Linked DNA regions of Homo sapiens: all the other regions are linked to region 2. Evidence: promoter capture Hi-C in human tissues and cell types (Jung and others, 2019). All regions are on one chromosome and are shown on one strand. Each heading gives the region's core, a stretch centred on a gene start or on the middle of the fragment in contact. The rest is flanking DNA. Distances are from core to core; before and after follow the strand shown.

Region 1 (4,193 bases), core at 271-2,770, 750 kb before region 2:
TTTTTTTTTTTTTTTTTTGAGATGGAGTCTCGCTCTGTCGCCCAGGCTGGAGTGCAGTGGCGCGATCTCTGCTCACTGCAAGCTCCGCCTTCCGGGTTCAGGCAATTCTCCCGCCTCAGCCTCCTGAGTAGCTGGGACTACAGGTGCCCGTGACCACACCCGGCTAATTTTTTTTTGTATTTTTAGTAGAGACAGGGTTTCACTTTGTCAGCCAGGATGGTCTCGATCTCCTGACTTCGTGATCCTCCCGCCTCGGCCTCCCAAAGTGCTGGGATTACAGGTGTGAGCCACCGCGACTGGCCCGGGTTCTTGTTCTTTCGGCCTGCCTGAGGGTCTCTGCTTTGCATATCTCCTGAAGCTCTTCATTGTTGGCTGCTTCCTCCACCCACTTCTGCAGCAAGGGAGGCAGCTTACACATGTTCTTGAAACTGAGCTGCAGAGCCTCAAAGCAGCTGATGGTCATTTGGCTGAACACCTTCCCAAATAGAACCCCCCAGAGGCTGGGCATGGTGACTCACTTCTGTAATCCTAGCACTTTGGGAGGCCAAGGTGGGAAGTCAGAAGTTCAAGACCAGCCTGGCCTGTAACATGGAGAAACCCCGTCTCTACTAAAAATACAAAAATTAGCTGGGCATAGTGGCACATGCATGTAATCCCAGCTACTTGGGAGGCTGAGGCACGAGAATCGCTTGAACCCAGGAGGCAGAGTGAAACGCCTAACCTTGTTTTTACTCTAACTCGTTACTTTGAATTTTATCCTGCTTGTCTCTTTAATCACCTAGCCTTGCTTCTCATGTAAATAAGACTCTCTCTAGCTGGGAAAGCCAGACAAACTCCAATTGACCCCTTAATTTACAAGATACTAAGGGCTCCTTACCCAACCCCCTTCCGCAAGGAGTTAACCTGTGTAAGCAGATCCTCAGCATTTCAAAGTAGCCCAATTAACTGATAAGGTACTAGCACCAACAATGTATGAAGTTCCCAGGATTTTTCTCAAAGAGATAACAACATAAAGCCTTGAGTTCCTGTCCGGCATACCCCCTATATCTAATTATAATAAAGGTTTAAAGCCTTGCACCTGGTACCGTTGCTCTTCTTGTAACCATTTGTCTTTTAAATTGTTTATCTCTTTGTAACCATTTTTTTTTTATTCTTGCATGTTTTTACTTCTGTAGAATTATTGCATTTGAGTTCCCCTCCCCTTCCTAAACCTAGGTATAAAAGTTAATCAACCCCCTTCCTCGGGGCCAAGAGAATTTTGAGCGTTAGCCGTCTCTTTGGCCGCCGGCTTAATAAAGGACTCTTAAATCGTCTCAAAGTGTGGCGTTCTCTCTAACACCCCTGGGCACAACAAGAGGTTGTGGTGAGCGAAGGTCACGCCACTGCACTCCAGCCTGGGCAACAGAGTGAGACCCTGTCTCAAAAATAAATAAACAAATAAATAAACATTTAAAAAAAGAGCCCCCAGGGTGAGCCCCACACGGGCCTGGATATATCCCAGGGTGATCCTCTTCTGCTTCAGGAGCTTGGCAAATTACAGAGCTTTGATGTCCTGGGACTCGTTGAGGTTTTGCTCCAGCTTCTCCTTCTCTAGCTTCATGGCACCAGCTGGGGCAGTGCAAGGCTCCAGGGAGGCCCCTCACAGTTGCTCTCCACCCAGGCTCCTGCCTCGCCCTCAGGCTGAGAGGTCTTCAAGCCACCTTGGGGCACTAGCCCCACTGCAACCGGAGACCCAGAGTATACCATCTGCCCACGGAACTCATGCAGTGGGGGGCACGGGAGAAACCCCCACATCTCAGAGCCTGGCCCAACACCCGGCCCAATTCCTGCCTTGGAAGCTTAGCCAAGTCCAGCTCCCGCCCCGCTGACCCATTACCTCCACCACCTGGAAGGGGCAAGAAGGTGAAATCCAAAGCCAGGTGTCCCACCATGGGGAAGGAAGGCTCCCCAAGCCAGGGATCTGGTGAAATGAGGCAAAAAGTTTTTAAATTTTAAAAAAAGTTGTTTTAGAAATGAGGTCTTGCTATGTTGCCCAGGCTGGAGTGCAGTGGCTATTCACAGGCATGATCATGGCTCATTACAGCCTGGAACTCCTGGGCTCAAGCGATCCTCCTGCCTCAGCCTTCTGAGTAGCTGGGACTACAGGCATGTGCCACTGTGACCTTCTTAAGGCTTTTGAAATTTTAAAAAGAAAAAGAGTCTGCATTCCTGACAACACACCAATGCCCCATACAAGACTCAGATGTGCCTGCCCTTATTGCTACTTATTGCTTGAGACAGATTAACCCTTGTCTGTTTAAGCCACTATAGAAGGCTACATTGTTATTTGCAATGTAATTTGCATTGTTATTTGCACTATAGAAGGCTACATTGTTATTTGCAGCCACAGTCATAATTATAATTATATGTGATAAATCTTGGAGCTTATTCTACAACAGTACTACTTTATTTTGTAGGAGGGGCTGCATAGAATTCCTGTTAAACAAATGTGTCTTTTTTTTTTTTTTGAGATGTGGTGTCACTCTGTCACCCAGGTTGGAGTGCAGTAGTGCGATCTCCACTCACTGCAACCTCTGCCTCTGCAGCTCAAGTGATCCTCCTGCCTCAGCCTCCTGAGTAGCTGGGACTACAGGTGCCTGCCACCACGCCCAGCTCATTTTTGTATTTTTTGTAGAGACAGCGTTTCACCATGTTGCTCAGGCTTGATGTGTCATTTTTCAAAAATCAAGCCAGTCCCCTATTTATGAACAATTAGTTTGCTTCCATGCTTTTGCCATTCAAACAGCCCTCAACTGTACCTCTTTCTACGTTTGTCTGTGCACATGGGGGAATACATATGTAAGATAGTTTCCTTGGCCCTGAAGTGCTTAATCAAAGGATTGGTACAAAGGATTAATGTTACATTAACAGATATGCCAGCTTGCCTCCTCATGGAGTTGTAAAAATGTACACTCCCACTTGTAGGTATCACAGCCTGCTTTCCCCAGCCTTGCAAACAGTGTCCCATCACAAGTCATTCTGAATGCTAGTATAGGACACCAAATCTCTCTTTCCTCCTAACAACCTGGCTAGGCAGCCAGGACAGGGATTCCTATTTACTACACTCTGGTTTTATAGGTAAGTAAACAGATTCCCAAGGATAAGGAACCTACTTTTCCCAACCTCAACCTGAATTTCTGGGATTAATACCTTCTAAGAATAGATATGAATGTGTAGTGTTGTAGCAGTAGCAGTAGTATTTAATAGTAGTAGTAGTAGTGTAGTACCATCATCCCCATTCCCCATTCCTCAAGCTGGAAGCCATTCTTTTCTTCACTTCTGGTGGAGATGGGGACAAAAGCTTTGTTTCTTTTTTTTTTTTTTGAGACGGAGTCTCGCTCTGCCACCCACGTTGGAGTACAGTGGCAGGATCTCGGCTCACTGCAACCTCCACCTCCCGGGTTCAAGCAATTTTCCTGCCTCAGCCTCCAAATTAGCTGGGATTACAGGCCTGCAACACCATGCCCAGTTAATTTTTGTTTTGTTTTGTTTTGTTTTTTGAGACAGAGTCTGGCTCTGTCGCCCAGGCTGGAGTGGAGTAGCACGATCTCAGCTCACTGCAACCTCCATCCCCCTAGTTCAAGCGATTCTCCTGCCTCAGCCTCCTGAGTAACTGGGATTACAGGTATGTGCCACTAAGCACAGCTAATTTTTTTTTTTTTTTTTAGATGGAGTTTTACTCTTGTTGTCCAGGCTGGAGTGCAATGGCGCAATCTCAGCTCACTGCAACCTCCACCTCCTGGGTTCAAGTGATTCTCCTGACTCAGCCTCCTGAGTAGCTGGGATTACAGGCATGCACCACCATGGCCGGCTAATTTTGTATTTTTAGTAGAGATGGGGTTTCTCCATGTTGGCCAGGCTGGTATAAAACTCCTGACCTCAGGTAATCCGCCCGCCTCAGCCTCCCAAAGTGCTGGGATTACAGGTGTGAGCCACTGCTCCCGACCCATTTTTTCTTTTTTCTTTTTTCTTTTTTTGTATTTTTAGTAGAGATGGGGTTTCACCATGTTGGCCAGGCTGGCCTAGAACTTCTGACCTCAATTGATTCTCCCATCTTGCCCTCCCAAAGTGCTGGGATTACAGGTGTGAGCCACTGCACCTGCCCAAGAGCTTTGTTTCTATCCTTTCTAGTCCATTCCCTCATAATTTCTGAG
Region 2 (4,254 bases), core at 1,551-4,050:
GACTTTGCCTCTGTTTATACATCTCCTGTGACGTGGAACTTTCTACTTAACATGGTGGACACTAAACTCTGACTGCTAGAAAATATTTCCTTATATTGACCCAGAATTTGTTTCCCTGGACTTTCTACCCTTTGGTTCTAGTCCTCCCCATGGATGTCCCAGAAAACACACTTGTTCTCTCTTTTCTCAGACAGCCTATAGGTGTCTGGAAACAATTCTACTCTTTCTTGAAATTCTCCCTGCTCTTGGCTTGATTCAATCTCTTGCTATGTCCAATTCTACCTCTCCGGCTATTGTTTTTGGGCCCCTCTTTTCCTGATTACTCCTTAAAGGTTGTTGCTTCCAGGCTTATACCCAGGGTCTCTTCTCTTTTTAAATAATCCCTTCCATTCTCATGTTTCTATGACCTTCTGTATGCTGGGGACATCCATACCAATATTTTTGACTTGGAATTAGCTCCAAGTTTATACCTCCAGTTGTTCCTAAAACATCTCCACTTGGATGGCTTACAGGGTTTTTTTTTGTTTTTTTTTTTTTTTTTTTTTTTGAGACGGACTCTTGCTCTGTTTCCCAGGCTAAAGTGCAGTGGCACGATCTCGGCTCTCTGCAAGCTCTGCCTCCCGGGTTCACGCCATTCTCCTGCCTCAGCCTCCCGAGTACCTGGGACTACAGGTGTCTGCCACCACGACCGGCTAATTTTTTGTATTTTTAGTAGAGATGGGGTTTCACTGTGTTAGCCAGGATGGTCTCGATCTCCTGACCTGGTGATCCGCCCACCTCAGCCTCCCAAAGTGCTAGGATTACAGGCGTGAGCCACGGCGCCCGGCCGGGGATCTTTTTTTATTATTTATTTTTAATTGAGACAGGGTCTTGCTCTGTTCCCCAAGCTGGAGTACAGTGGCTCAATCATAGCTCACTGCAGCCTTGAACTCCTGGGCTCAAATGATCCTCCCAGCTCAGCCTCCTGAGTAGCTGGGACTACAGGTGCATGCCATTAAGCCTAGCTAACCTTTTTTTTTTTTTTTTTTTTGAGATGGTGTCTTGCTCTGTCACCCAGGCTGGAGTGCAATGGCATGATCTTGGCTCACTGCAAGCTCCACCTCCCTGGTTCATGCCATTCTCCTGCCTCAGCCTCCTGAGTAGCTGTGACTACAGGCGCCTGCCACCATGCCCGGCTAATTTTTTGTATTTTTAGTAGAGACGGGGTTTCATTGTGTTAGCCAGGATGGTCTTGATCTCCTGACCTCGTGATCCACCCACCTCAGCCTCCTAAAGTGCTGGGATTACAGGCGTGAGCCACCCCACCAGGCCTGGCTAACTTTAAAAAACAATTTTGTAGAGATGGGATCTCACTATGTTGCCCAGGCTATTCTCAAACTCCTGGGCTCAAGCAATCCTCCTGCCTCAGCTTCCCATAGTGCTGGGATTACAGGCGTGAGATACTGTGCCCAGCTACTGACAAGGATCTTAAACTCAACCAACCAAGACTGGATTTGTCTTTGTGCCCCTTCCCCCACTAACTGGGTCCTCTGAGTACGTTCTCTTATCTCTGTGGAAGACATCTCCATCTACCAGGTCCCCCAGCTGCCAACTTGAGAACCATCTTTATTTGCCTCTTCTGTGTTTCCTGACCAACCAGCCCCCAAGTCCCGTAGTTCCCTCTAGCCTGGGCCTTCTCCCTCACCTCCCAGCATCTTTAGCTTGGGCATTTGACCAGAGCCCTGACCTGTGTGCCTGGGAAAGGTGGCCAGCCTCTCCAGCTCTCCCTGTTTCTCCACTGGGCATTAATGTGTTCAGTGCTGGAGAAGCGGCATGGAGAAGACCTTCAGTCTTCAAGCTTTATAGCCCCCAGCTCTCATCTCCCCACACCAACATTCTGAGTCTGCCAACTCAGTCTCAGGTCTTTTCTGACTGCTCCCAATCCAGTCCTGCCACTCCCAGTGGCCTCTCCATCTCCTGGCTTGCAGTATCTTTTATGATCTTGTCCCTTCTGACCTCTCTCACCTCATTTCCAGAGACACCAGACCTCTTGGGTCATGCTGTTTCCTTGCCCGAAATGCTTTTCCTTCCCCTTTTGGCTTGGAGAACTCCTTTTTATCCTTTAAGCTCCAGTGTAAAGATCTTTTCCAAAAGCTTGGAACTGTTCCTCCCCATCCCATACCCTCAGCACACCTTTTACTCCTGGGTGTCATCCCTGGGCCCGGCATTTACCCCTTCTTATTCTGTAATTATCCATTTATCTCTGTCCTTTACCCGTGAAGCTGCATTGCTTTGCCAAGAACTTGGTCCCCAGCACATTACTGCCAAAACCTTGAAGACTGACGTCTTCTCCATGCCTCTCCTCCAGTACTGAATACATTAATGTCCTGCAGAGAAACAGGGCGAGCTGGAGGGCTCCCGTCACATGGGTCGGGCCTCTGGTTCCTCCAACTAGGCTCAGATAGAAATCTCAGAAATGTACATGACCTGCCCCCGACTCCATGGCAACCCTTCACCCAGAGGGGGTCGGCACAATATCTGTGGCTGAGTTTTTGCCCTCACCCCACTTTCACGCGTCCTTAGGGCGCTGAGCGCTCCCTGCAGACGCTTCTTCCCGGGGCTTACCGAGCAGCGACAAGAACAGACTGTGGTACGCTTCATAGTCGTCGTCCATGGTCGTGGTGCTGGGAGGGGGTGCTGAAGGGCGTGTGTGAATGTGTGTCGATGTGGGCTTGCTTGCGTAGGGGTACCGGGGTATCAGATAAACCGTAACTCCAAGTCGTGCGAAAGGCGCTCAGCTCAGACTGCAGAAGCAACCTGTTGCCGTGGCTACGGACGCCCCGCGCCAATTGGCTGAGCGCTGTCACGTGTTAAGAGCGAGCCCGCCCTGCCGAGCGCCTGCTGGCCCCACCTCGTTTTCGTCCAATTCTGGGAGGGGCAGCGAGCAAATCCACGCCCCGCCCAGTTCTGGGCTTGGTGAAAGGCGGGATTTCTTTGTTCGGCCCAGTAGTCCCTGAATCCAGTGTAGAAAGTCTCCGGTTTTCCCGTGAAATGTGGGATCTTCCGCAGGTCTCCATATCTCTAGGCCTCAGTTTTCTCATAGGAAAAATAGGCCCTGCCTCCTCCAGAGGGTTAGGAAGAACCAAAGTGAGCTGTGGCCAGATAGAGGTGTTGGGTATGTTCTGCCCCGCTTATGGCAGGGTGCCATGGTTTGGAGTTACAGAACCTGAGGACCAGAGAATAATAATAAACCCTTGAAATGTGCATCAACTGATAAGCAAAATGAGGTATATCCATAGGATGGCCATAAGAAGGAATGAAGTACATGCTACAATATGGATAAACCTTCAAAACAGTATGCTAAGCAAGAAGCTAGACACAAAAGGCCACGTGCTGTATGATTCCATTTATGTGAAATGTTCAGCATAGACGAACCCACAGACACGGAAAGTAGATGAATGGTTGCTAGGGGATGGGGTGAGTAATTGAAGTGACTGCTAACAGGTGGAGAGATTCTTTTTGGAGTGGAAAAAAGAAATGGAAACTTCTGGAATTAGTGATGATGGCTGCACACTGTAAATGTACTAAACCACTGAACTGTACACTTTAAAATGGTTAAATGGTGGCTTTTAGCTCAATTTTTAAAAAGTTAAAGAGAAACACCTAAGCCCTTATTCCTTTGCTGAGACAAGCTATCTTTGTGACGCTTGCAAACAGATTGTTGCCATGGGCCACATTCACACAGCACTCTTGCAAGCCAGGTACCATTTTAGCACTACATGTCTGAACTTCATAATTACCATCATTGTGTGAGGTAGACACCACTATCCCATTTTTAAAAGACAAGTTAACAGGTACAGAGGTCAGGCAACCTCACCTGCAAGAAACAGGAAAAGCCAGGCCTAGAGCCTGAGCAACCTGGCTGTGTCCTGAGCTCCCCTGGTGCAGAGCTCGCCTCCTGCATTCACACGGGCCCACACTCCCCATGGAGATGCTGGGGGAAGGTATGTGACCACCAGCCCTACCACAAAGCCACACCTGATGCCCTGAGCTTGGTGAGCTCGCCCCACCCTCCAGGCCCAGCTGGGCCCAAGGTTTCAGAGGCCCCTCTCCACCCTCTTTGGGTGTCTTGTCCCTACTCCTTACCGCTTTTGTTCCCTTCCATTATTAGGTGCCCTTCTTTCTCTCTGTGAGGGTCTGTACAGAACTTGTTTATCTTTGTGCCCCTCCCCACCACAGGGCTTTACACTTTGTGAATGCTACTTGGATGTTTGT
Region 3 (4,596 bases), core at 591-3,090, 670 kb after region 2:
ATTTATAAAAATGAAGTAGTACAGACATGAACGTGTAGCAATCTCTATAATCCTGCCATCCAAGGATGGCACCTGTTAACGTGCATATCAGGGATGTCCAATCTTTTGGCCTACCTGCGCTACATTGGAAGAAGAAGAATCGCCTTGGGCCACACATAAAATACACTAAAGCTAGCAATAGCTGATGAGCTAAAAGAAAAAAAAATCACAAAAAAACCTCATATTGTTTTAAGAAAGTTTACAGATTTGTGTTGGGCCACAGGTTGGACAAACCTGCTATATACATGTTCTAGGTTTTCCCCTATAGGTATACCTATGTGAAAATGATTATTTTGATACATTTTTTTTTGAGATGAAGTCTTGCTATGTTGCTCAAGGTGGCCACAAAGTCCTGGGCTTAAGCCATCCTCCCGCCTCAGCCTCCTGAGTAGTTGGAATATAGGTACTCATAACCACGTGTGGGTGATTATTATTAGTTTTTAAACAAAAATGGGGCTGGGCGCAGTAGCTCACGCCCGTATTCCTAACACTTTGGGAGGCTGAGGCAGCAGATCACTTGAGGTCAGGAGTTCAAGATCAGCCTGGCCAACATGGAGAAACCTCGAATCTACAAAAAATACAAAAATTAGCCAGGCGTGGTAGCACGCACCTGTAGTCCCAGCTACTCAGGAGGCTGAGATGGGAGGATAGCTTGAACCTGGGAGGTGGGAGGATGCAGTGGGCCGAGATGGCACCACTGCACTCCAGCCTGGGCAATACAAAGCCAGACTCTGTCTCAAAAAAAAAAAAAAAAAAAAAAAAAAAGGTTGGTGGGGGCTTATACTATATGTACTGCTTGGCACTGTTTTTTTTTCACTTAAAAGATATTGCAGGTTTTTTTTCACGTAAGTATCTGAAGAAAGACTTCCTTTTTTTTTTTTTTTTTTGCTTTTTTGCTTTTTTGAGACAGGGTCTTGCTTTGTTGCCCACGCTGGAGTGCAGTGGTGAGATCAGGGCTCACTGCAGCCTCCACCTCGTGGGCTCAAGCCATCCTCCCACCTCAGCTTCCCGAGTAGCTGGGACTACAGGCATGTCCAACCACATCTGGCTAGTTTCTGTATGTTTTGTGAAGATGGGGTCCCACTATGTGGCCCAGGTTGGTCTTGAACACCTGGGGTCAAGTAGTCCTCCTGCCTTAGCCTCCTAAAGTGCTGAGATGACAGGCCTGAGCCCCACGCCTGGCCAGCCTCCTGTGCGAGGTTGTGCGGGACTCTGTCATGGAACCCAGTATGTCTTCGCGTGCTGGCTTGTTTGTTGGCTCTGTAGTTAACGGGCTGCCCCACGTGGACAGGCACTGGGTCGTCCATGTCTCTGTGTGCAGGCAGAGGCTGCTGCGGGTGCATCTTTGCACATGGCTGCCAGGAGGGGCTGTGCTCAGGGGGAGCTGGGGCAGAGTCTGGTGGCAATGGGGGGCTTGGGTGTAGTGTGGAGGCACTAGAGCCAGGTGGCCGGGCTGCAGTCTGCGGGAGCTCGGGGGTCTCTTGGCCTCTGTGTGTCCTAGTGTTTTTGTCGGTGAGATGGGACAATGACAGAACACCCTCACAGGTGCTGGGGGCTGACCAATGTCAGGTCTCAGGACAGTGGCTGGCCCACTACGGGGCCAGTTGCCCTTCTCTATAGTCACCCTGCTCGTCTTCCATCAACTGGGTGCTCAGGACAGTGGCGTGGTGGATCCGCCTGTACAGCCTGTGCTCCAGCATCCTGCAGGCCACAGCTGTGTCCAGCCCTGACCCCGACTGCCCCTCCCACCACCTCCATTTTATAGATGAGGAAACCGAGGCCCAAGGGCTTAGGGAAACCTGCTCTGAGGCACATAGTAGGGCTGCTGGGCTCAGACCCTCCCGCCCTGTGCTGAGCTGCCCTCCTCCTGCCGCAAGCCCCCCACGCCCCAAGCCCACCCTGCTCACCGGCCTCTGCCCGAGTTCCCCGCATGGTGTGGGAGTGTGGGGCATCCTAGCTTTTTGCTGGCACCCAGTTCTTTCACTTCCACTGGAGTCCTGCAGGGACAGCTCGGGGACCATGCAGGCCCGGGTGGGCGTGGGGGCTCACCTAGCTCGGTGGTGAACACCTGGCACGTCTCTGGGTTGCGGACGGTAAAGGCCATGTAGACCTCAGGAGCCCGCTGGTGCTCCCAGCAGGCAGCCAGCCTCCGCAGGACCCCGACCAGGGACACGATGGCTTCTGGGCAATACAGCACGTCTACGGTGAAAGCTTCAGGTTACTGAAAGGGACAAGTGGAAAGTTCCAGTTCATGCTGACCTCAGCAGCAGGGTGAGGCCAGAGAGGCAGCGTTCATATGAGACTATTAGATGCCATTTGACCATTTGGGCCATTAGATGGAAGGGCAATTACTTGGGTGAAAAAGGAGAACCCTTAGTAGAGAAAGCTGCAAAAGACCGAAGCAAAAGAAAAAAATCTCCAGACTCACTGGTGTTCCTTAAAAAACCAGCTCTGGTTCTGGGCCTATCTAGAGGGCTTTGAATGGCAGAAAGCCTGACCCTACCGTGAACTTCGTGTTTCAGGTGTCTGCCGATTGGTCTGCTGGCTTGCAGGGGTGGGCCTCTGTCCCTGGCCACCGCTGGACCTGTGGGTTTCAGGGCTGGGACCCAGGACCACAGGCAGAGCTCTGTTCCACCAGAGAGGGGACTGAGTGTGCTGGCAGGGGTGAGGGGTTTTTGGTGGCCCAGCCAAACACCACCTTCTCCCAAGGGCCCTGTCCTCATCCCAGAAGTGGTTGTTTTCCTCCTGTGGTCTCTGAAGGACACAGGGCATGGCTCTGGAACAGAGCCGTGTGGTGACGACTGTAACGGGAGTATGCCTGTCTCCAACAAGAGGGCTGTGGCTTGAAGGTCACCTTAAGAGGCACCCCTGTCCTTTGATGTCCCCCTGGAGGCCCGGAGTAACTCTTCTGGAAGCCCCATCATGTCCATGCCCGACAGCATCCACTGTTCCCTTTTCCCAGAGCCAAGAGCTGGGTAGAGCTGCAAGGACACCGCCTGCACAGGATGCCCGGGGCTGGGCATTACCTGCTGTAATGACAACATCTGGCTGGAAGGCAGAGAGCTGATGGACCGTCGCTACATCCCAGTCCAGCTGGGCCACTGTCACCCTGGGGCTATCTAAGTTGGCAGTGATGTCTGCCTCTAATGAGAGGCCATTGAGAAGGACATTCCCTCGGAGCTGCTCGAGGACCCGGCTGTGACAGTCGCTGAAGATGTATGTCCGGGGGTGGCACATCTTGCAGATGGACAGGCCTGTAAGGCCGGCGCCACTGCCAAGCTCTAGGACAGTCCTGGCGGGAGGAAAGGGGACCGTGTCTTCGACTGCACCAGGGTAAGCCTGCCTCGGTGCCCTGCCCTGTGCCCCGAGGTCACCTGTTAGTGAAGGCTGCCAGGTTCTCAATGACCCATTCTGCAAGGTAGATGGCGGCTGCCCTGTGCCCCGAGGTCACCTGTTAGTGAAGGCTGCCAGGTTCTTGATGGCCCATTCTGCAAGGTAGCGGGCAGCGTCCCATGTGACCAGGCCTGTGGTACCGTGGGAGATGATGGCTGTGCTCGGAGAGTGTGACCGAGCCTTCCGAGGGCTGTACCAAGAGAGGGTGAGACAGTAAGTCCAGCAATCAGAAAACAAGTGGCTTAGAAGACAAGTAGCCATCCGCCACATGGCTGAATAAACCATGACAGGACCAATCGCCACTCAGCAATGAGAAGCAGCTAACTGTTGACATACCAACAGCTTGCACGGGCCTCAAGGGTGTCACGCGGCATGAAAGACACTCATCTCAGGCCACACAGGATTCCATTCATCGAACATTCCTGAGACAACGGAATTCTGGCGATGGAGCACAGGTCAGTGGTGGCCAGGGGCCAGGTGTGGCTATGAAGGGGTGGCTGCCTTGTGATGATTCAATATGCTATGTTTTTCCTTTGTGGTTTTCTGTATCTATGCTTTATCTTATTTTTTTTTGAGCTCTGTCACCCAGGCTGGAGTCAGTGGCATGATCTTGGCTCACTGCAACCTCTGCCTCCTGGGTTCAAGCAATTCTCCTGCCTCAGCAGCCCAAGTAGCCGTGACTACAGGTGTGTGCCACCATGTCCGGCTAATTTTTGTACTTTTTTTTGAGACAAAGATTCGCTCTCATTGCCAAGGCCGTGGTGCAATAGCGTGATCTCGGCTCACTACAACCTCCACCTCCTGGGTTCAAGAGATTCTCCTGCCTCAGCCTCCTGAGTAGCTGGGATTACAGGCGCCCACTACCACACCCCGCTAATTTTTGTATTTTTAGTAAAGATGGAGTTTCACCATGTTGGCCAAGCTGGTCTCAAACTCCTGACCTCAGGTGATCCCCCCGCCTCAGCCTCCCAAAATGCTGGGATTACAGGCATGAGCCACCACGCCTGGCCTAATTTTTGTATTTTTAGTAGAGATAGGGTTTCACCATATCGGCCAGGCTGGTCTCGAACTCTTGACCTCAGATCCACCCGCCTCGGCCTCCCAAAGTGCTGGGATTACAGGCGTGAGCCACCATGTCCAGCCCTGTCAAATATTCTTTGAGGA

What was found. The method cuts DNA at HindIII sites, captures the fragments that hold promoters and counts their contacts. A contact is called where the count stands out against the background at its distance.
Region 1: a contact is called between a fragment that was not itself captured here and the fragment with the promoter of EFCAB12 in region 2, in 1 of the 25 tissues and cell types used here (spleen).
Region 3: a fragment that was not itself captured here is called in contact with the fragment with the promoter of EFCAB12 in region 2 in 2 of the 25 tissues and cell types used here (H1 embryonic stem cells and spleen).

The regions. Positions count from the first base shown.
Region 1 is chr3:128,675,075-128,679,267 of GRCh38, forward strand. It overlaps the pseudogene POU5F1P6. Among named protein-coding and RNA genes, the nearest start is that of RPN1, 26 kb to the left of the region's middle. RefSeq lists an enhancer at 262-331. The HindIII fragment of the contact is 6,212 bases long and covers 1-4,193 here.
Region 2 is chr3:129,425,836-129,430,089 of GRCh38, forward strand. EFCAB12 (EF-hand calcium binding domain 12) reads right to left here and starts at 2,801. Exons shown (of 9, transcript NM_207307.3): 1 at 2,605-2,801. The coding sequence starts at 2,653. RefSeq lists a silencer at 2,938-2,987. The HindIII fragment of the contact is 10,320 bases long and covers 1-4,254 here.
Region 3 is chr3:130,100,676-130,105,271 of GRCh38, forward strand. It overlaps the pseudogene FAM86HP. Among named protein-coding and RNA genes, the nearest start is that of LINC02014, 8.7 kb to the left of the region's middle. The HindIII fragment of the contact is 7,534 bases long and covers 1-4,596 here.